7 separate regions of the Homo sapiens genome follow, and all the other regions are linked to region 1. Evidence: promoter capture Hi-C in 16 types of primary human blood cells and fetal thymus (Javierre and others, 2016). All regions are on one chromosome and are shown on one strand. Each heading gives the region's core, a stretch centred on a gene start or on the middle of the fragment in contact. The rest is flanking DNA. Distances are from core to core; before and after follow the strand shown. Region 1 holds the start of KLF8 (KLF transcription factor 8). Region 2 overlaps RRAGB (Ras related GTP binding B). Region 3 has its middle 17 kb from the start of NBDY. Region 4 overlaps RRAGB (Ras related GTP binding B). Region 5 has its middle 68 kb from the start of RRAGB. Region 6 has its middle 150 kb from the start of RRAGB. Region 7 has its middle 200 kb from the start of RRAGB.

What was found. The method cuts DNA at HindIII sites, captures the fragments that hold promoters and counts their contacts. A CHiCAGO score of 5 or more calls a contact.
Region 2: a contact is called between a fragment that was not itself captured here and the fragment with the promoter of KLF8 in region 1, in 2 of 17 cell types (naive B cells and total B cells). The highest score is 6.9, in naive B cells.
Region 3: a fragment that was not itself captured here is called in contact with the fragment with the promoter of KLF8 in region 1 in 1 of 17 cell types (naive CD8 T cells); the score reaches 5.1 in naive CD8 T cells.
Region 4: a contact is called between a fragment that was not itself captured here and the fragment with the promoter of KLF8 in region 1, in 6 of 17 cell types (total B cells, naive B cells, M2 macrophages and 3 more). The highest score is 12.3, in total B cells.
Region 5: a contact is called between a fragment that was not itself captured here and the fragment with the promoter of KLF8 in region 1, in 1 of 17 cell types (naive B cells). The highest score is 6.3, in naive B cells.
Region 6: a contact is called between a fragment that was not itself captured here and the fragment with the promoter of KLF8 in region 1, in 1 of 17 cell types (total B cells). The highest score is 6.6, in total B cells.
Region 7: a contact is called between a fragment that was not itself captured here and the fragment with the promoter of KLF8 in region 1, in 2 of 17 cell types (total B cells and naive B cells). The highest score is 11.0, in total B cells.

The regions. Positions count from the first base shown.
Region 1 is chrX:56,230,886-56,233,944 of GRCh38, forward strand. KLF8 (KLF transcription factor 8) reads left to right here and starts at 1,471. Exons shown (of 6, transcript NM_007250.5): 1 at 1,471-2,456. The coding sequence starts at 2,450. The HindIII fragment of the contact is 3,283 bases long and covers 1-2,881 here.
Region 2 is chrX:55,733,774-55,736,832 of GRCh38, forward strand. All of the region lies in intron 5 of RRAGB (Ras related GTP binding B), which reads left to right. Among named protein-coding and RNA genes, the nearest start is that of RRAGB, 18 kb to the left of the region's middle. The HindIII fragment of the contact is 1,854 bases long and covers 574-2,427 here.
Region 3 is chrX:56,711,028-56,714,086 of GRCh38, forward strand. No RefSeq gene overlaps it. Among named protein-coding and RNA genes, the nearest start is that of NBDY, 17 kb to the right of the region's middle. The HindIII fragment of the contact is 5,674 bases long and covers 1-3,059 here.
Region 4 is chrX:55,751,450-55,754,508 of GRCh38, forward strand. It overlaps RRAGB (Ras related GTP binding B), which reads left to right. Exons shown (of 10, transcript NM_006064.5): 7 at 1,943-2,065. Among named protein-coding and RNA genes, the nearest start is that of RRAGB, 35 kb to the left of the region's middle. The HindIII fragment of the contact is 4,544 bases long and covers 1-3,059 here.
Region 5 is chrX:55,783,981-55,787,039 of GRCh38, forward strand. No RefSeq gene overlaps it. Among named protein-coding and RNA genes, the nearest start is that of RRAGB, 68 kb to the left of the region's middle. The HindIII fragment of the contact is 1,812 bases long and covers 559-2,370 here.
Region 6 is chrX:55,869,866-55,872,924 of GRCh38, forward strand. No RefSeq gene overlaps it. Among named protein-coding and RNA genes, the nearest start is that of RRAGB, 150 kb to the left of the region's middle. The HindIII fragment of the contact is 3,036 bases long and covers 1-2,953 here.
Region 7 is chrX:55,920,309-55,923,367 of GRCh38, forward strand. It overlaps a transcript of KLF8 not described here. Among named protein-coding and RNA genes, the nearest start is that of RRAGB, 200 kb to the left of the region's middle. The HindIII fragment of the contact is 9,872 bases long and covers 1-3,059 here.

The DNA.
Region 1 (3,059 bases), core at 221-2,720:
AAGCAATGGTCAGTTTTGCCTGAAGAAATTAAGTAAGGAGGGGAGATGACCTTGAGTTAGTCCTTTCAAGAAAGTGGACAGATTCATTGGAAGGACATGCAAGAAAAAAAAAGGTGGACAGAGAGCTTAGTCTATTTCAGTCAGAGAAAGTAAAGCAACCCAAGGCATAGAGATTGGAAACAGCTTGGAATTCCCAGGGATTTGTAATCCAGGTAAAGCCCAGGAGAACAGCAAAATCTCTGCTGCTTGAGAGGCAGACAAAGGCCAGATCACAGCAGGTTAAAGGATGAGTTCCAGGGTGCTGCCTTGGATGTATGGTGGTGCCATTCAGGTAGTTGGTGAACTACAGGAGGAAGAACAGAGTGTTTTGGGGAAAGGAAGGTAGATGAGATGCACAGAAGACATTCAGGCAGAAATATCAACTAAGTAAGTAGACCTATGTGTTCGAAAGTACTGGGCTGAGGCCTTCCGTTTCCTTATTTTTTTAAATAAAGGGCACAGAGAATATAACAGTACCTAGTTCCCAGGGTTGTTATTGGGACTAAATGGGGAAATGTTGAATGTAAAAGCACCTGGCTCAGGGACTTGCCCATATTAGGTGCTGAATACATGGCAGATATTATTATTTCTCCTGTCTCTTTGCTCTTCCTCCCTCTGCTTTGTTTCTTGTCTCTCTTCTTTTTCCTCCTCTTTAAAAGAATTGTGGTAGGGAAGAGGCACTGAAAATGGGCTGTGGTTGCTTGTGACTTCCTGGCCTCCCATTAAAATGAGCTAGAGAGAGACTTTCAGGCAAGCGTAAAGAAATCCTGGAAACATGGCTCCTATCCTGTGGATTCAGCTTTACGGGGATCTTCGCCAATGCCTGGCTGAGAGGCGGTCTCAGGGGGTTGAGAACTCTATTCTTAGAGGTCTGGTATCTGGGAGACTGAGAAAGCCTTTCTTAAGTCTCCCTGCTGGGCCACGCTGTATTCACAGATCATCTTCAACTCCTTCTTCTTCCCCACCTACTCCTTCGCCCTCACCTCCTTGGCTTATCTCTTGCTAGAAAATGCACCAAGCTCCAATCTCCGTTCCTTTTAGCTTCCTCCCTGAGAAGACACTGTGACCTCGCTGTCCTTGTTCGTGTTACCATGGAGAGGTAGGAGGATAAATATCGCTTCCAGTTGTCAGCTTTTTTGTTTTCTCCTTTCCCTCTTAGACAGCCCCCAGCCCCAATCCCAGTACCCGTTTCACCACCCTCCCCTGGAGAATTAGCATAACCGGAGTAAATAGGTAATCAAGCAGTGTGCTTGCAAGCCTTAATTTTGGGACAGATAAGGAAGTGAAATTGATTGGAATTATACCTGCCGCTGCTGGAGGCTGAGGGAGGCGGCCGCCGGAGGCGAGGCCAGCTCTGTCGGCCCAGGGCCCCGCCCCACCCCCTCCTTCCTCCCTCCTCCTTCTCAGCCCCACCCTTCTCCACCTCCTCCCACTTTGCACTCTCCTCTAGCGGCCGCCTGTCCTTTTTAAGGAACTCCACCCTAGGTGGAGTCCTCACGATAGTCACACCTCTCCTTTGGGCCTAGCAGGGCCAGAGAAAGACGGAATCACTCTACCCACTCAGGTTGCCCAGAGAGCACTTTAGGTTCTGACTCGCGTGGGGCGCGAGGTACCCCGTGGGGCAGCTAGGTGCCTCCAAGAAACCCCGCCCCAGAGGACCCGCACGAGTTGCTGCCATTTTTCGCTGAAGCCCCTGCCCTGGGGCTGGTGTTCTTCTCTATGATTCTACCAATCGTCGGCATTTTTTTCCTCCCTTCTTTCTTTTTAGGAAGGCGCTGGGGTGTGCGGCGGCAACGGCGGCGGTGAAGGGATCCTCTTGTGGTATCTCCTCGTGGGTTCCTGTCTTGAAGGATTTCTTCTCCGCCTCAACTTTATGTTCAAGTAGCGCTTTGGGGGTTGGGTTGGTTTTCATAGCCCCCACCCCCGGCCCTCTCCTTTTAAAGGGTGTGTGGAGTTCAGAGGATGGGTGGAGAGCGGGCTTGGCCGGAACTGAATTGGTAGAGGTAAAAGGGGAACGGAGGACCTTAAGCTCTGGCCACTTCGGCCCAGCGAACCCACTTTATTTTTGTCCAAGGAAAAGCTGCAGGGGGGAGGATTCTTTTTAGGAAGTCTACTCTGCCGGCCCCTGATTTTTGGGTTGGATGCTTGAGAGCTTTGTTTCCCTTGTTCCGAGAGTGGCCCAGCTGGGTCTGAATCGACTCCCTCCCCTTTCGACCCCCTCCTCATTTTCCAGCCCGGAGAAATAGGGGAGTGGGGGCCCAAGAACGAGAAGACGAGAACGCGTCGCCCTGCGCTATGTCAGAATGGGGCGGGTGTGAGGGGAACAGCTCTCTTGCGATCAGCTCAGGAGTATGAGCCTCCCGGAGGACGGCATGAGTTCTGGACACTTCAGGAGTCCTCAGCTAGTGACATGGTCGGTAAGTGACTCTGGGACTAATACCCACCCACTCCCACCTCTTTCGTCTAGATTCTATCCCCCTCCCAGTCCCCCTGCTCCCCCCACACACCCCACTTGGGGTTTCAGCAGTGGGGGCGGGAGCGGAAGGTTAAGAACACTATGTGGAATCAAATGAAACTCAAGGGAAAATGACTTTGCTAAAGGGCTGGGCAAAGAAAGGCCAAGAAGGAGAGGAGAGAGCTTGGTGGAAGAAGTGAAAGGGGGCAAGAATGGATGGATTTGTCTAGTCTAGTCTCCCCTGGCTCGGCACTCCCAATACTCCTTAAGCGGTAAGGATTGTCTTTGACTTAACCCCACACAGCCAAAGTCACAACCAGAGAGAACAGGATTCACAAGGCCAAAGCTCCCAGGTAACCCCCTGAAGCCATAGCGGGTACCTAGAGAAGCTTCTGAAAAGAAGGAGGAGGGGACAGTGGTTTAAGGTGCAAAGTTAGGCTATTGGAGGCACAGAGTGAGGCCTGGAAGCAGCTGCGGGGGAGGAGCTGCTTTGGGCGTGCCAGCTCTTTAAGGAGGGGCTGAGCTTGGTTGGAGAAGGAAGCCAGAGCCTAGGCTCTGCTCCGGC
Region 2 (3,059 bases), core at 251-2,750, 500 kb before region 1:
GTCCTTTCGTGGCTTTGGTATTAGGATGACACTGGCTTTGTAGAATGAGTTAAGGAGGATTCCCTCATTCTCAATCTTTTGGGACAGTTTCAGTTGGATTGGCATCAGTTCTTTGACTGTCTCATAGAACTTGGCTATGAATCTATCTGGTCCTGGGGTTTTTTTTTTTGGTTGGGAAATTTTGAGTTTTTGTTTCTTTTTTTTTTTTGAGACGGAGTCTCGCTCTTTCACCCAGGCTGGAGTGCAGTGGCGTGGTCTCGTCTCACTGCAAGCTCTGCCTCCCAGGTTCACGCCATTCTCCTGCCTCAGCCTCCCGAGTAGCTGGGACCACAGGTGCCCGCCACCACACCCAGCTAATTTTTTGTATTTTTAGTAGAGACGGGGTTTCACCATGTTAGCCAGGATGGTCTCAATCTCCTGACCTCATGATCCGCCTGCCTCGGCCTCCCAAAGTGCTGGGATTACAGGCTTGAGCCACCGTGCCCGGCTGGGTTTTTTTTTTTTTTTATTACTGATTACGTCTCACTAATTGTTAGTGCTCTGTTCAGGATTTCTATTTCTTTTCCTGATTGAAGCTTGTGTGGTTGTATATTTCCAAGAATTTATCCATTTCCTTTAGATTTTGTACTTTGAGTGCATAGAAGTGTTCATAGTAGTCTCAGTCATCCTTTGTATTTCTGTGTTTATCAGTATGATGTTTCCATTTTCATTTCTGATAGAGCTTATTGGAATCTTCTTTTCTTGCTTTATCTAGCTAGTGGTTTATTAATTTAGTTTATCTTTTCAAAGAACCAACTTTTTGTTTCATTGACCATTGTATTTTTTTAATTTATTTTCAATTTTCTTGAGTTCTACTCTAATCTTTGTTATTTCTTATTTCTTTTCTTCTGCTAGCTTTGGGTTTGGCTTGTTCTTGTTTCTCCAGTTCCTTGAGGTGTGATGTTAGGTTGTAAATTTGTGATCTTTTTGTCCTTTTGATGTAGGCATTTAGTGCAATAAACTTTGATCTTAGCACTGCTTTTGCTATATCCCAGAGATTTTGATAACTTGTGTCAGTATTTTAATTCATTTCAAAAAATTTTTCCATCTTGATTTTATTTTTGACCCAAAGATCATTGAAGAATAGACTATTTAATTTCCATATATTTGTATGGTTTTGAGAATTCCTCTTGGAATTGATTTCTGGTTTTATTCTGCTTTGGGCTGATTTGATACTTGATATGATTTTGATTTTTTAAAATTTATTAAGACTTCTTTTGTGGCCTGATATATAGTCTATCTTGAAAAAGTTCCACGTGCTGACAACAAGAATGTATATTCTGCAGTTTTTGGGTAGAATGTTCTGTAAATGTCTGTTAAATCCACTTTTTCTAGAGTCCAGTTTAAGTCCAGTGTTTGTTGACTTTCCGCCACAATGATCTATCCAGTGCTGTCCATGGCGTGTTGTAGTCCTCCACTATAATTGTATTGCTTTCTATCTCTTTTTCTTAGGTCTAGTAGTTTCTGTTTTTATGAATCTGGGAGCTCTGGAGTTAGGTGTGCATAAATTTTGGGTTGTTATATCTTCTTGTTGAATTGATTTCTTTATCATTATATAATGACATTTTTTGTCTTTTTTACTGTTGTTGATTTAAAGTCTGTTTTATCTAAGAATAGTTATTCCCACTCACTTTTGGTTTCCATTAACATGGAATATTCTTCCTACCCATCTGCCTTAAGTCTATAAGAATCTTTACAAGTTAACTGGGTCTCTTGAAGACAGCAGATATTTGGTTTGTGTTTTTTTCCATTCTGTCCATCTATTATCTTTTAAGTGGCACATTTAGACCATTTACATTCAATGTTAATATTGACATGTGATGTACTGTTGCAGTCATCATGCTGCTACCTAGTTGCTTGGTTTTCTTCAATGTGTTACAGTTTTATAAGTCCTGTGAATTTTTTGCCTTCAAGTGTTTTTATACTGGTGCATATGACCTTTCATTTAGATATTTAGAACTCCTTTTGCATTTCTTATAGGTCTGGTCTGGTGGAGACAAATTCCATCAGCATTTGCTTGTCTGGGAGAGACTTCATTTCTCTTTCACATATGCAATTTAGTTTTGATAGATACAGAATTCTTGGCTGACAGTTATTCCGTTTGAGGAGACTAAAGATAGGACTCAATCCCTTTTGGCTTGTAAGGTTTCTGCTGAGAAGTCTGCTATTAGTCTGATAGGTTTTCCTTTGTAAGTTATCCAATGCTTTTGTCTCACTCTTCTTAGAATTCTTTCCTTCATGTTGACTTTAGATAGCCTGATGACTTGGTAATGTCTTTTTTTATAATGAATCTCCTAGGAGTTCTTTGAGCTTCTTGTATTTGGATGTCTAAATTTCTAGCAAGACCAGGAAAGTTTTCCTCAAATATTTCCTCAAATGGGTTTTCCAAGCTTTTTGCTTTTTCTTCTCCCTCAGGAACACCTGTGATTCTTAGATTTGGATGTTTTATACCTAAACCCATATTTACTGGAGACTTTGTTCATTTCTTTTAATTCCTTTTTTAAAATTTTTATCTGATTGTGTTAATTTGAAAGCCTTGTCTTCAAGCTCTGAAATTCTTCTTCTACTTGGTCCAGTTATTTCTTTATGTTGGTTTCTAACTTTCTCTTGGATATCATTTAGCAACCTAATAATTAACATTTTGAATTCTTTATCTGATATTTCAAAGATTTCATTTTGATTTGGATCCATCACTGGAGAGTTAGTGTGATCTTTTTGGGGGTGTTGTAGAACTCTGTTTTTGCATGTTGCCAGAATCATTTTTCTGGTTCCTTCTCATCTGGGTGGACAATTTCGTCTTATTATTTTTGAATTTATTTCTGATTTTACTGGGTTTTTAAATGTTTTTCTCCCCTTGAGTATGTGACTTTAATGTGTGTAGTGTATGGTCACCTAGCTTTGGCTCTGGGTGCTTTCAGTGGCAAAGACTGTGTATGAGCTCTTTGGTTGTAGAGAATCTTTGTGCAGTGGCTTTCTTAGCTGCTGGTTGTAGTAGCAGTGTGCTGGGTGTGTGAGAAGGC
Region 3 (3,059 bases), core at 243-2,742, 480 kb after region 1:
TAAACTAGCATAACCACTATGGAAAACAGTGTGGAGAGTCCTTAAAGAACTAATAATAAAACTCCCATTTGATCCAGCAATCCCACTACTATGTATCTACCCAGAGGAAAAGAAGTCATTATATGAGAAAGATACTTGCACATGCATATTTATGGCAGCACAATTTGCAATTGCAAAAATGTGGAACCAGTCCAAATGCCCATCAATCAATGAGTGCATAACAAAATTGTGGTATATTTATACATATGATGAAATACTACTCAACCATAAACATGCATGGCATTCACAGCAACCTGGATGGAACTGGAGGCTATTATTCTAAGTGAAGTAACTCAGAAATAAAAAAACAAACATTATATGTTCTCACTCATAAGTGGGAGCTAAGCTATGAGGACACAAAGTCATAAGAACTATACAATGGACTTTGGGGACTCAGGTGAAAGAGTGGGAGCAGGGTGAGAGATAAAAGACTACAAATTGAGTTCAGTGTATACTTCTCAGGTGATGGGTACACAAAATCTCAGAAATTACCACTAAAGAACTCACCCATGTAACCGAATACCACCTGTTCTCCCAAAACCTATGGAAATAAAAATAAGTAAAAAAATAAATAAGCAATTGGGCTGCTTTTTGGTAGAGCAAGTGTGCTTCATTAGGGGGAATTCTTCCTTGTCCTGACTGTTTGGATTCTCCAAAACTAGCAAACTGGAATGGCTGTGTTGACTGAACTGCAGAGATGGTGGCTGACCCTCTTCCTGGGAGCTCCATTTCAGGGAGAGATCAGAGCTCTATCTATAGAACCCTGGCTGGAGTAGCTGAAGCCTCTGCAGGGAAGTCCTGCCCAGAAAGAAATAATGAATTGGGGTCTCACTTAAAGAAGCAGTCTGGCCATGATCTGGCAAGACAGCTTTGCTGGATTGTGGGGGAACCTTCCTTTTCTAGACCATCTGTATTCTCCAAAGCCATCAGGTTGTAATGTCTGAGTCTACCAAACCACAGAAATGGCAGCCACCTCTCCCCCTGGGAACTTGGACCCATCTCAAGCAGAGTCCTGTCTGTTGCTATTGGCTGGCTGGAATTCCAAGCCAGTGGATCTTAAGTTGTGAGGTGCCATGGAAGTGGGGTCAACAGAATAATGTCATTTGGCTCCCTGGATTTGGCCCCCTTCCTAGGAATATGTACAAACAGATTTCCCACCTTGCCAGGGATTCTGGGGCCAGAGTAAGTAAAATAACTGGGTTTCTGTGTGTGCCTGAGTGACTGCTCTGCTGAGACTCAACGCAGCTCTGCTGAGACTACACACACACTTATTGCACCCCAAGGCCCTGGTGGCATGGGCTTATAAGTGTATCACCTTATCTGTGGGGTGCAAAGATTTGTGGGAGAAGTGTGGTTTCCCAGGTTGAGTCGCACAATTACTTACTGCATCTTTTGGCTGGGGGTGGGGATTGCTTTGGCTTTGTGCCACTTCTGGGTGGGCCATCACCCCACCCTGCTTTTCTTCTCCGTGGGTAGAGTTGTTTGCCTTGTCAGTCCCAATGTGAGAGCCTGGATATTTCAGTTGAAGGTGCTGAATTCACTTGCCCCTTTTTTTTCCTTTCTGTAAGTGCCATGAACTGCAGCTGCTTCTAAGTAGCCATCTTGGCCCCTCCCTTATTTAACATTTTTTTCCAATTTTTTACCATTAAAAGTAATACTGTGGTAAATATTTTTGTGTTAAAATTTTTGGAAATCTTAAATTTCTTTCCTAAAGACAGATTCTGAAATTTGGAATTACTTGGTAAAGAAATAAATACTTTACACCTACTTTTAATATGCTTTCTAAAAGTGTTGTACATATATAAACTAAAAATTACAATATATTATAGTACCACTTTTCTGCATTGTCAGTAGCATTGTGTGTCTTTTTCCTAAATTAGTTGGTGAAAATAGTGTCTACATTTTTTAAATTCACATTTATTTTTAATTTTTAATTGTAAGAAATGTTCATTGAACTCATAAAAGTAGAGAGTAGAATGACGGTGGGTGGGGTGGAGAAAAGAATTGGGGAGTTGTTGGTCAAAGGGTAAAAAGTTTCAGATAGAAGAGAGGAATAAGTTTTTAGATCAATTGCACAGTTGGGTGACTATAGTCAATGATAATAAATACATTTTAAAATAACTAAAAGAGTACATTTTAAATGTCTCCCCATAAAAATGATAGGTAAATAAAATGACTAATATGTTAATTAGCTTCATTTAATCATTCCACATTGTACACATGTATCAAAACATCACAGGTATTCCATAAATATATACAATTATGATTTGCAAATTAAAAATTTTGCATTTATTTGACAACTTATTGGTTGCATACTTTCCAGTATTGGACAGTCTGTTGTTTTTTCCTTTTCAAAAAATGTGTGTTTCTGTTTGTGGTAGACACAAACAGATGTTTGTGATCTGGCCTTCAATGAACTCCACTTTCAGCTATTCATGACCATGTGCAAACTCCTCTCTCTGGGTGTAGGTTTGACCTAGTGATTAACTTCTGATTAATAGAATATGCTGTAAGTAATGGGATATCACTTCTAAAAATTAAGTTGTAAAAAGACTGTAGCTTTAATCATTAGAACTCTGACATTCTCTCTCTAATCACCAACCTTGGGAAAAGCTAGAGCTTCCAGCAACCTTGTAGAAGGGTCCAAGTGGCAAGAGATCAAGCCTTGAAATAATCATATGAGTGAGCTTGGAGGAGGATCTGCCACCAATCTAGCCTTCAGATATGACAGCAGCCATAGCTGACAGTTTGACTGCTACCTCATAAGAAACCTAGAGACAAAGAAACCCAGCTGAGCTGCACCTGAATTTCTAAGCCACAGAAACTATGAGATAATAATGTTGGTTTCTTTAAGCTGCAAAACCTGGTTTATTTGCATCTTCCTCTTATTTTTGCCTAATCACACCATCCATTAATACAATCAACTAATTCCCTTGCTGTTAGTCCACACATACTGATGTCCTACTGATTATAAATGAATGAATGCACTATTCAGATATTGGAAATCTGTTCAGCAAATG
Region 4 (3,059 bases), core at 419-2,918, 480 kb before region 1:
TACTGGTCTTTGTAATAGCAGAGGTTTCACTTACTGGCCATCATCCATTTTGACCTGTTGTGGTCTCAATGCTGATTGGAGTTGTATCTAGTATTCAGGTACTTCTACATGATATAAGCTAGTCTGCCTAAGTTTGGATGGCAATAAAATGAAAATATTTAGGGAAGAGATTGGAGAAGGAGTCTTAGAATCAGACATGTTATGCCTAGCATATGGTATAATAGCTTCAACTTTCATGCCAAATTGGAGACAAGCATTCTTTCAACCAGAAGTACTGTTCCCATTGCTGGAATGGATACCACACTGCTTACACTAATTATGGAGGTTACAACAATAGCTTTGTTATGGATGAAGCTGAAATTACCTTATTGGCACATAGGCTCCTTATTCTGATTCCTCCCTTTCTCCTACTGATCTAGTTATTTGAAGGACTAGGTCCTTTTGGATCCTTCTGTAGTTAGCCCTTCCCTTCAGACTGCTTCTGGTATCCATTGACAAGTCTGACTCTGGGTAGGAAAGCACCCTTCTCTGTCACTGGTAGCTACAGCCTCAGTATCAACAGCATCTGACAAGTATCTACAACCAGAAGCACAGAAACCTGATGTGGCAAGGAGAAAAACCATTGGACTTTTAAATAGCCATTGCTTTTTTTTTTTTTAACTAATTCATTTTCCCCAATATTATGTTGACCCAGCCTCACTCTAATAACAGATCATTTTGAGATACCTGTCTAGGAAATACTGTTCTAGATTAATATGGGCCGAATTTCTCTCAAAGCCTTATTCCCATAGAACAGGTAACCGTGAATAAGGATGGACATGACGCACTGATAAGAACCAACTGCGGTGTGAAGGATGGCAATACATAACACGACCAAAGACAATTGGCTAATCACAACACTGCTGTGAGTGACAATGTCTCTGCTGTGGTTAGCTTTGGTGCCTTCTCCAAGGTAAATTCAGCAGTGACATTAACACCGACCTGGGAACTTGGAACCTGAACCCTCATGCCTAAGTAATAAAACTAATTGGAACAGAGACATGGCACTTCTGTCTCTTACATCAATGTTGCATAGAGCTAACTTAAATTTTTATATTAAGTTTTATTCAACAAGCACTCTTTACATACCTGCTTGATGCTGTTGGATACACAAATGACTAAGACCAGGTTCCTGCCCTCTTGTAGGGGAGAGAAGAACAAAGTACACCTTACCAGACAAATTGGAGTGAGAGTGAAGGAAGTATTATAATGAAAATACAAATAAAAGAGCCTACAAGAATAGAGGGAGAGTGTGGTTAATTTCAACTGCTTACATTAGTCATACTCCTGGATGAAGTCAGTTTTAGGCAAAAACACAGTAGACCATTTTGAATTCAATTGGATCAATAATTTATATGGATAACAACAAACCTTTGGGAATGATAATGCCACTAGTTTCTCTTTTAATGGTATATTATTCTATTGAGGGGAGGGGCCATTTGTCTATGTGGCTCTGCTACTTTCATAAAATTGATTCTTAGGTATATGTTAAATATAGCATAATTAGGTTCTGATCTTTAGAGAAATCTACACTGTTGGACTTAAATATTTGTGACTAGATTAGGAGCTTTTTAACAAAGTAGATCATATTTTTCAACTTTTTTCCTAAGGCAACATGATGGCATTAAATATTTGTTTGCTTTCAATTATCAATGGAAAGAAGTTTCTCCAGCATTTTACAAAAGTGTTTGAACTTAAAAAAAATTCAACTCAAGGGTAAAAATCAGATGCTAGCTTCATTTTCTCATTTCATTTGTGTTATATCATATTTAATGTCAGTATTTGTTTGGGACTGGATTATCATCATATTTTGCTGTCCACATATTATAGTGTACTTACTAATTTCAAAGGTCTGGGACTGACTAGCTGTTAATAATAGTACACTGTGTTTCTGTTCTGTTAGGCTTGGTCCAGCATAGTTTATCAGCTGATTCCCAATGTTCAGCAGCTGGAAATGAACCTAAGGAATTTTGCTGAAATTATCGAAGCTGATGAAGTACTTCTTTTTGAGAGAGCTACTTTTCTGGTAAGAACTTTCTGCTTTGCAGATGTACTTCACACTGTACGTTCTTTGTTTTCAGCAACAGAGAACAGCATGTCACTACTTTCAGGAAGAACCTTTTTCCCTCTTGTCAACTTTAGCATGTACAGACTTATTTATAAAATAGTATTGTCAGCAAGTGACCTGAAAGAAGCCCTTTGGTGTGTAGCTCTTTGGAAGTTAGTGAAACTTAGATTTTTCCAGGTATGTATTATTAGAGAGTTCAGATTGTTGGCTGGGCATGGGGGCTCACGCCTGTAATCCCAGCACTTTGGGAGGCCGAGGCGGGTGGATCACCTGAGGTCGGGAGTTAGAGACCAGCCTGACCAACATGGAGAAACCCCGTCTCTACCAAAAAATACAAAATTAGCCAGGTGTGGTGACGCATGCCTATAATCCCAGCTACTTGGGAGGCTGAGGCAGGAGAATCGCTTGAACTCGGGAGGCGGAGGTTGGGGTGAGCTGAGATCATGCCATTGCACTCCAGCCTGGGCAACAAGAGCGAAACTCCATCTCAAAAAAAAAGAGAGTTCAGATTATTTATGCTAGTAACTGTTCATTTATGTTAAAGGATTCCTATTTCCTGTGGACTTTTATTATGAAATGTGGGATATTTTCCTTTTGAGAAAACTCACATCCTATCCTTTTCTCTAAAAGACTCATTGAAAACTTTTAATGTAGAAGAGATGTTATGGTCATCTCAGTGACATAGGAGTTCACATGAAGAAGTGGAGAGGGAAAGAGGCATGTTGGTATTTTTATTTTTCTTGTAAATTGAACTTAGCAACTATATTAGAGCCTATTGTTTGTATAACCCTGAAAGGGGGATGCAAAAACCAGTATTGTATTTGTAAATACATTTTAAAAATAGCAATAATAGAAACTAAGGTGTCACAACACACTGCATAAGTAATTGCTAATTAGCCTTGGTAAATGTAACTCTAAGAGCAGTTCCCAGTAAATAATTTGTTTCTGAGCC
Region 5 (3,059 bases), core at 215-2,714, 450 kb before region 1:
AAAACCTTAGTCTGGTTCTCAGTGCATTCAGTGGTCTGGTGGCTGCGTTCACTTCTCTGCTTAAAATAGTAGTTAATACTTATTGAGCATTCACTCTGCCAGGCATTTGCTTAAGCACTTTATCTGGACTGTGTCATCTAATCTGCCCCAGGAAACCTTTGCTGTTGATGCTACTATTATCCTCTATTTCTATATGAGATACGAAGAGGCTATATTCAGGGTTCCAGAGTGACAGAGCCAAATAGGATGTATATGTATATGAAAGGGAGGTTATTAGGGAGAATTGGTTCACATGATTACAAGGTAAAGTCCACAATAGGCCACCTGCAAGTGGGGGAAGAAAGAAGCCAGTAGTGGCTCAGTCTGAGTAAAAAAGCCTCAAAGCCAGGGAAGCCAACATTGTAGCCTTCAGTCTGCAGCCGAAGGTCTGAGAGACACCTGCAAGCCATTGGTGCAATTCCCACAGTACAAAGGCTGAAGAACCTGGAGTCTAATGTCCAAAGGCAGGAGGAACAGAAGCAAGCGTCCAGCACGGGAAGCCAGAAAACGCACCAAGCAAGCTTATCCCACCTTCTTCCACCTGCTTTGTTCTAGCCATGCCGGCAGCTGATTGCGTGGTGCCCACTTACATTGAGGGTCTTCCTCTCCCAGTCCCACGACTTAAATGTTGATCTCTGGCAACACCCTCACAGACACACCCAGAAACAATGCCTTACCAACCATCTAGGCATCCCTCAATCCAATCAAGTTGACACCTAATATTAACCATCACAGAGACTAAGCCTCTTTTATTTGGTAGCCAATAAAATGGCAGAGATGGAATTTGAATCTAAGAAATTTATACTGGAGCCTGTGTACTTAACCACGTCTTGATACTACTTCTCAAATCCACAGATGTTTTTCCCTTACACCAAGCAGTCTCCTGACCATGGCCTACAAGATCTTATGTGTCCTGAATGGTAATGCCTAGGTTTTCTTCTAGGGTTTTTATGGTTTTAGGTCTAACGTTTAAGTCTTTAATCCATCTTGAATTAATTTTTGTATAAGGTGTAAGGAAGAGATCCAGTTTCAGCTTTCTACATATGGCTAGCCAGTTTTCCCAGCACCATTTATTAAATAGGGAATCCTTTCCCCATTGCTTGTTTTTCTCAGGTTTGTCAAAGATCAGATAGTTGTAGATAGGCATGGGAAAGGACTTCATGTCTGAAACACCAAAAGCAATGGCAACAAAAGCCATAATTGACAAATGGGATCTAATTAAAGAGTTTCTGCACAGCAAAAGAAACTACCATCAGAGTGAACAGGCAACCTACAAATGGGAGAAAATTTTCACAACCTACTCATCTGACAAAGGGCTAATATCCAGAATCTACAATGAACTCAAACAAATTTACAAGAAAAAAAAACCCCATCAAAAAGTGGGCAAAGGATATAAACAGACACTTCTCAAAAGAAGACATTTATGCAGCCAAAAAACACATGAAAAAATGCTCACCATCACTGGCCATCAGAGAAATGCAAATCAAAACCACAATGAGATAGCATCTCACACCAGTTAGAATGGCGATCATTAAAAAGTCAGGAAACAACAGGTGCTGGAGAGGATGTGGAGAAATAGGAACACTTTTACACTGTTGGTGGGACTGGAAACTAGTTCAACCCTTGTGGAAGTCAATGTGGCGATTCCTCAGGGATCTAGAACTAGAAATACCATTTGACCCAGCCATCCCATTACTGGGTATATACCCAAAGAACTGTAAATCTTGCTGCTATAAAGACACATGCACACGTATGTTGATTGTGGCACTATTCACAATAGCAAAGACTTGGAACCAACCCAAATGTCCAACAATGATAGACTGGATTAAGAAAATGTGGCACATATACACCATGGAATACTATGCAGCCATAAAAAATGATGAGTTCATGTCCTTTGTAGGGACATGGATGAAATTGGAAATCATCATTCTCAGTAAACTATAGCAAGAACAAAAAACCAAACACCGCATATTCTCACTCATAGGTGGGAATTGAACAATGAGAACACATGGACACAGGAGGGGGAACATCACACTCTGGGGACTGTTGTGGGGTGGGGGGAGGGGGGAGGGAAGCATTAGGAGATATACCTAATGCTAAATGACGAGTTAATGGGTGCAGCACACCAGCATGGCACATGTATACATATGTAACTAACCTGCACATTGTGCACATGTACCCTAAAACTTAAAGTATAATAATTATAAAATTTAAAAAAAAAGATTTTATGTGATCTGGCTTCTATCTACTTCTTCAACATCATCTCTTACCATTTTCTTCTCAATTCATTCTGCTCCTTCCATAACTGGCCTTGCTAATTTTAACATATCAAGCTTATTCTTACTTTAGGATCTTTGTTCTAACTGTTCCTACTTGTAATGTTCTTCCCATGACTTGTTCATTCTCATTATTCAAGTCCCTGTTCACATTACCACATCAGATATCTTCTCCATGAACACCTCATCATAACTACTACTATCTCACCCCCTGTTATGCTCTAACATAGTATCCTGTTTTAATTTCTTTATAAAACTTATCATTACTTGAAATTATTATTTTATTTATTTGATAATTTTCTGTTGGCTCTCACTAGAATTGTAGGTCCACATGAGGGCAGGGACCTTGTTCACCACTGTATGCACAGCATCTGGAACAAAATCTGACATACAGTAAAGGACTCAGTAAATACTTGTTTAATGAATGAGCAAACCCCACAAACATTTATTCAACACCTTCTACATGCCATGCCAGATACTGGGAGTACATAGATTGGATAGGACATGGACTTTGACATTTCTGCCATTGAAATTTCTGTGGTTTTACAAGAAAGGCAGACATTAGACCAGAGAGTGAGCAGCATTGTGCTAGAAGGAAAGAGAAAGCTCAGAGGAGGGACCTTTAATGCAGCTTGGAGGCATTGAGGAAGGCCTCCAAGAGAAAATAAGGGCATTCCAAGCAAAGAGACCAGCACACTGGTAAGAAGAGTCCTGGAGGTGTGAGACATCATGTTGCTTTAAGAA
Region 6 (3,059 bases), core at 186-2,685, 360 kb before region 1:
CACCAAACTAGAGGAATACAAAGAGATCCACAGTGAGACACATTATAATCAAATTCTTAAAACTTAAAGAGAGAATTCTGAAAGCAGCAGGAGAAAAGTAACTTGTTACCTACAAGAAAACCCTCATAAAACAATCAGTGTTTTTATCAGTAGAACCTTGCAGGCCAGAAGGAGTAGGTGGGTTGATAGATTCAAAGTGCTAAAAGGAAAAAAAGAAAAAAAAAACCTGCCAGGCAATAATACTACAATTGGCAAATATGTCTTTCACAAAGGAAAGAGAGACAAAGACTTTCTCAAACAAAAGTTGAAGGAGTTTAGTACCACTAGACCTGCCTTGCAAGAAATGCTAAAGTGAATTCTTCAAGTTAAAACAAAAAGATACTAAACAGAAATGTGAGAGCATAAGAAAGTATAAAACTTGCTGGTAAAGGTAAATACATAGACAAATAGAGGGAATACTGTATTACTATAAAAGTAGTGGGTAAATCACGCTTAATTCAATTATAAAAGTCAAAAGACAAAACTATTAAAAATAGTTATAAGTAAATTATGTTAATGGTTACACAATATAAATGAATCTAAATTGTGACATTCTTGACACGTAATAATGTGGGGTAAAGAGAGGTAAACATGTAGAGTTCCTCTACACAAGTGAAGCTAAGTTGTTATCAGTGTGAAATAGACCATTGTAAAACTACAAGATATTTTATGTAAGCTCCATGTTGATCATAAAGAAAATACTTACAGAAGTTACATATGCAAAAATAAAAAACAAAACCTATCGACACAATAATAATAATAATAATAAAGACAGCAAAAGAGAAGAAAAGAGACACATGAACTATAAGACAAACAGAAAACAATGAACAAATAGCAACAATAAGTCTTTTCTAATCAATGTAAATGTAAATGGATTACACTCTCTAATCAAAAGATATACAATGGCTGAATGAATTAAAAGTAAAGAGTTGGAAAAAGATATTCTATGCAAAGGAAAGCAAGAGAGGCTATACATATATCAAACAAAATAGACTTTAAAAACTTTTTAGAAACAAAGACAGTAATTGTATAATGACATAAGAGTCAATTCAATAAGAAGACATAATTTTAAATACATATGCACCCACCATTATAGCAATTAAATATTTGAAGCAAATATTGACATATATGAAAGAAGAAACTGACTGCAAGACAATACTAGTAGAAAACTTCAAAACTCCGTTTTCAATAATGCATAAAGCATCCAAACAGAAAATAAATTAAGAAACTGTAGACTTGAATAACACTACAGACCAAATGGACCTATCAGACAAAACTCTCCACCCAACAGCAGAAGAATATACATTGTTCTCAGCACACATAAAACATTCTTCAGGATAGATAACACATTGGGCAATGAAACAAGTCTTAACAAAATGGGTAAGTTTGAAATTATACCAAGTAACTTTTCTGACCACAGTGGAATCAAATTCAAAATCAGGAACAGTAAGAAAATGAGAAAATTCATAAATACGTAAAAATTAACAAGATTTGAAAAACCATTCAGTCAAAGAGGAAATCAAAAGGAAATTAAAAGAGTGTCTCAAGACAAATGAAAACAAAATTACTACATACCAAAACCATGTGGAATGTAGCAAAAGCAGTATTAAGAGGAAAATTTGTAGCAATAAATGCCTACATTAAAAGGCAAGAGAGATCTCAAATAAACAATCTAATGTTACACATCAAGAAACTAGAAAAAGAAATGAAGACTAAGCCCCAAACTTAGCAGAAAGGAAATGAATAATAAAAATCAGAGCAGAAATAAAACAAATTGAAAAAAATCAACAAAATCAAGGTCTAGTTTTTTCCCCCGAGACTGAGTCTTGCTCTGTCACCCAGTCTGGAGGGCAGTGGTGAGATCTCGGCTCACTGTAGCCTCTGCCTCCCAGGTTCAAGCAATTCTTCTGCCTCAGCCTCCCAAGTAGCTGAGATTACAGGGGCCTGCCACCACGCCCAGCTAATTTTTGTATTTTTAGTAGAGACAGGGTTTTACCATGTTGGCCAGGCTGGTCTCGAATTCCTGACCTCATGATCTGCCCGCCTCAGCCTCCCAAAATGTTGGGATTATAGGCGTGGCCAAGATGTAGTTTTCTGAAAAGATAAAATTAACAATCCCTCAGCTAGTTTAAGAAAAAAGAGAAGTCTCAGATAAATAAAATCGATGGTAAAGAGAAGGCATTAAAACAGAGGCCTTAGAAATAACAAGGATCATAAGAATGTATTATGTACAATTATATGCCAACAAATTTGATAAAATAAGTGGATACATTCCTAGAAACAGGAAACCCACCAAGACTGAAATAATGAATAGATATAAAGCCTAAGCAGACAAATAACAAGTAAAGAGATTGAAATGTTAATAAAATACTGCCTAACCAAAAAAAGCACAGGACCAGATGGTTTCATGGGTAAATTCTACCAAATACTCAAAAAAATAATTAATACCAAAGCTACTTAAAGCCTTAAAAAAAAAAGAAGAGGAAACGCTTCAAAACTAATTTTATAAGGCTAGCATCACTTTCATGTGAAAGCCAGACAAAGACACCACAGAAAACAAATCTAGAAGCCAATATCTGTGATGAATATAGATAGAACAGTTCTCAATAAAAGACTAGCTAACTTAATTCAAAAGTACATGAAAAAGATTATACAACATAAATAAGTAAAGTTTTCCCAGAGAAGCAAGGCGAGTTCAGTATATGCAAATCAATCAATGTAATGTAACATAATATAAACCAAAAGCCATGTAATAATCTCAATAGACACAGAAAAAGCATTTGACTGGGTTCAACATCTATTTATAATAGAAAACTGTAAACAAAGTAGGTATAGAAGAAACTTACCTGAGCATAATAAAGGATATTTATAAAAAGCCCACAGTTAGCATCTTAATGAATGAGGAAAAACTGAAAGCTTTCCCTCTGAGGTCTGGTTGAAGGCACTTGCCAGTTCTATTCAACAGATCATTACATATCAACATAATAAAAGCTGGGAAGTCCCACCAGAGCAATTAGATA
Region 7 (3,059 bases), core at 357-2,856, 310 kb before region 1:
CCCAAATGAGAAGGATACAAAAAAAACAATTCTGGTAATATGACAAAACAAGGATCTTTAACATACCCAAAATATCCTGCCAGCTCACCAGCAATGGATCCAAACCATGACGAAATCTTTGAACTGCGAGAAAAAGAATTCAGAATGTCTGTCATTAAGCTAATCAAGGAGGCAATAGAAAAAGGTGAAGTCCAACTTAAGTAAATCAAAAACATGATACAGGATAGGAAAGGAAAATTCTTCAGTGAAATACATAGCATAAATAAAAAACAATCACAGCTTCTGGAAATCAAGGACACACTTAGAGAAATGCAAAATGCAGTGGAAAATCTCAGCAATAAAATCAAACAAGCAGAAAGAACTTCAGAGCTCGAAGACAAGACTTTTGAATTAACCCAGTCCATCAAAGACAAAGAAAAAAGAATTTTAAAAAATGAACAAAGCCTCCAAGAAGTTTGGGACTATGTTAAATATCCAAACCTAAGAATAATTGGTGTTCCTGATGATGAAGAGAAATATAAAAGTTTGAAAAACATATTTGAGGGAATAATCAAAGAAAACTTACTCGGCCATGCTAGACATCTAAACTTAAAAGTAAAACCCCAAACTATAAAATTCCTAGTAGAAGAGAATCAAGGCAATACCGTTCAGAACATAGACACAGGCAACCATTTCATGATGAAGCCGCCAAAAGCAATTGCAACAAAAGCAAAAATTGAGAAATGGGATCTAATTAAAGAGCTTCTGCACAGAAAAAGTAACTATAATCAGAATGAACAGACAACCTACAGAACTGGAGAAAATACTTTCAAACTATGCATCTGACAAAGGTCTAATATTCAGCATATACAAGGAACTTAAATTTATAAGAAAAAATCCCATTAATTCATCTTGAGTCAATTTTTGTATCAGGTGTAAGGAAGGGGTCCAGTTTTAATTTTCTGCATGTGGCTAGCCAGTTTTCCCAGCATCATTAATTTAATAGGGAATCCTTTCCCAGTTGCTTGTTTTTGCCAGGTTTGTCGAAGATAAGATGGTTGTAGATGTGTGACCTTATTTCTGAGATCTCTATTATGTTCCATTGATCTATGTATCTGTTTTTGTATGGGTACCATGCTGTTTTGGTTACTATCGGCTGTAGTATTGTTTGCAGTCAGGTAGCATGATGCCTCCAGCTTTGTTCTAAAACCCAAAATTATAAAAACTCTAGAAGAAAATCTAGGCAATACCATTCAGGGCATAGGCATGGGCAAAGATTTCATGACAAAAACATCAAAAGCAATGCTACGAAAGCAAAAATTGACAAATGGGATCTAATTAAACTAAAGAGCTTCTGTACAGCAAAAGAAACTCTCATCAGAGTGAAGAGACAACCTACAGAATAGGAGAAAATTTTTGCAATCTATCCTTCAGACAAGGTTCTAATATCCAGAATCTATAAGGAATTTAAACAAATGTACAAGAATAAAAAAACCCCATTATAAAGTGGGTAAAGGACATGAATAGACACTTCTCAAAAGAAGACATTTATGTGGCCAACATACATATCAAAAACAAACTCAACATCATTCATCATTGGAGAAATACAAATCAAAATCACAATGAGATAACATCTCATGCCAGTCAGAATGATGATTATTAAAAAGTCAAGAAACAACAGATGCTGGCAAAGCTGTGGAGAAATAGGAATGCTTTTACACTGTTGGTGGGAATGTAAATTAGTTCAACCATTGTGGAAGACAGTGTGGCAATTCCTCAAAGACCTAGCAGCAGAAATACCATTTGACTCAGCAATCCCATTACTGGGTATATACCCAAAGAAATATAAATCACTGTATTGTAAAAATACATGCATACGTATGTTCATTGCAGCACTATTCACAATAGCAAAGACATGGAATCAACCGAAATATCCATCAGTGATAGACTGGATAAAGAAATATGCTACATTACACAATGGAATACTATGCAGCCATAAAAAGGAATGAGATCTTGTCCTTTGTAGGACATGGATGGAGCTGGAAGCCATTATCCTCAGCAAACTAACACAGGAACGGAAAACCAAACACTGCGTGTTCTCACTTATAATGGGAGGTGAACAATGAAAATGCATGGATACAGGGAGGGGAACAACACACGCTGGGACCTGTCAGGGGGACAGCAGGGGGAGGGAGAGCATCAAGATAAATAGCTAATGCATGTGGGGCTTAATACCTATGTGATGGGTTGATAGGTGCAGCAAACCACTATGGAACACTTTTACCTATGTAACAAACCTGCACGTCCTGCACACATATCCTGGAACTTAAAATAAAATCGAAAGAAAGAAAAAATCCCATTAAAAAATGGGCAAAGGCCATGAATAGACACTTCTCAAAAGAGGATATACATGTGGCCAACAAACATATGAAAAAAAGCTCAATATCACTCTGATCATTAGAGAAATGGAAATCGAAACCACAGTGAGATACCATCTCACACCAGTCAGGATGCCTATTATTAAAAAGTCCAGAAACAACAGATGCTGGTGAGATTTTAGAGAAAATGAAACTCTTTTGCACTGTTGGTGGGAGTGGAAATTAGTTCAACCATTGTGGAAGACAGTGTGGCGATTCCTCAAAGATGTAGAGGCAGAAATACTATTTGACTTAGCAATCCCATTACTGAGTATATACCCAGAGAAATAGAAATCATTATTTTATAAAGATATATGTATGCATATGTTCATTGCAGCACTATTCACAATAGCAAAGACATGGAATCAACCCAAATGCCCATCAATGATAGACTGGATAAAGAAAATGTGGTACATATACACCATGGAATACTATGCAGCTATAAAAAGAGATAAGATCACGTCCTTTGCAGGGACATGGATGGAGTTGGAAGCCATTATCCTCAGCGAGTTAACACAGAAAAAGAAAATCAAATACCACATGTTATCACTTATAAGTGGGAGCTGAATGATGAAAACACCTGGACACATGGGTGGGGGGTGGGGAATAACACACACTAAGGGCTGTCAGAAGGTGAGGGGTGGGAGGAGGGAGACCATCCAG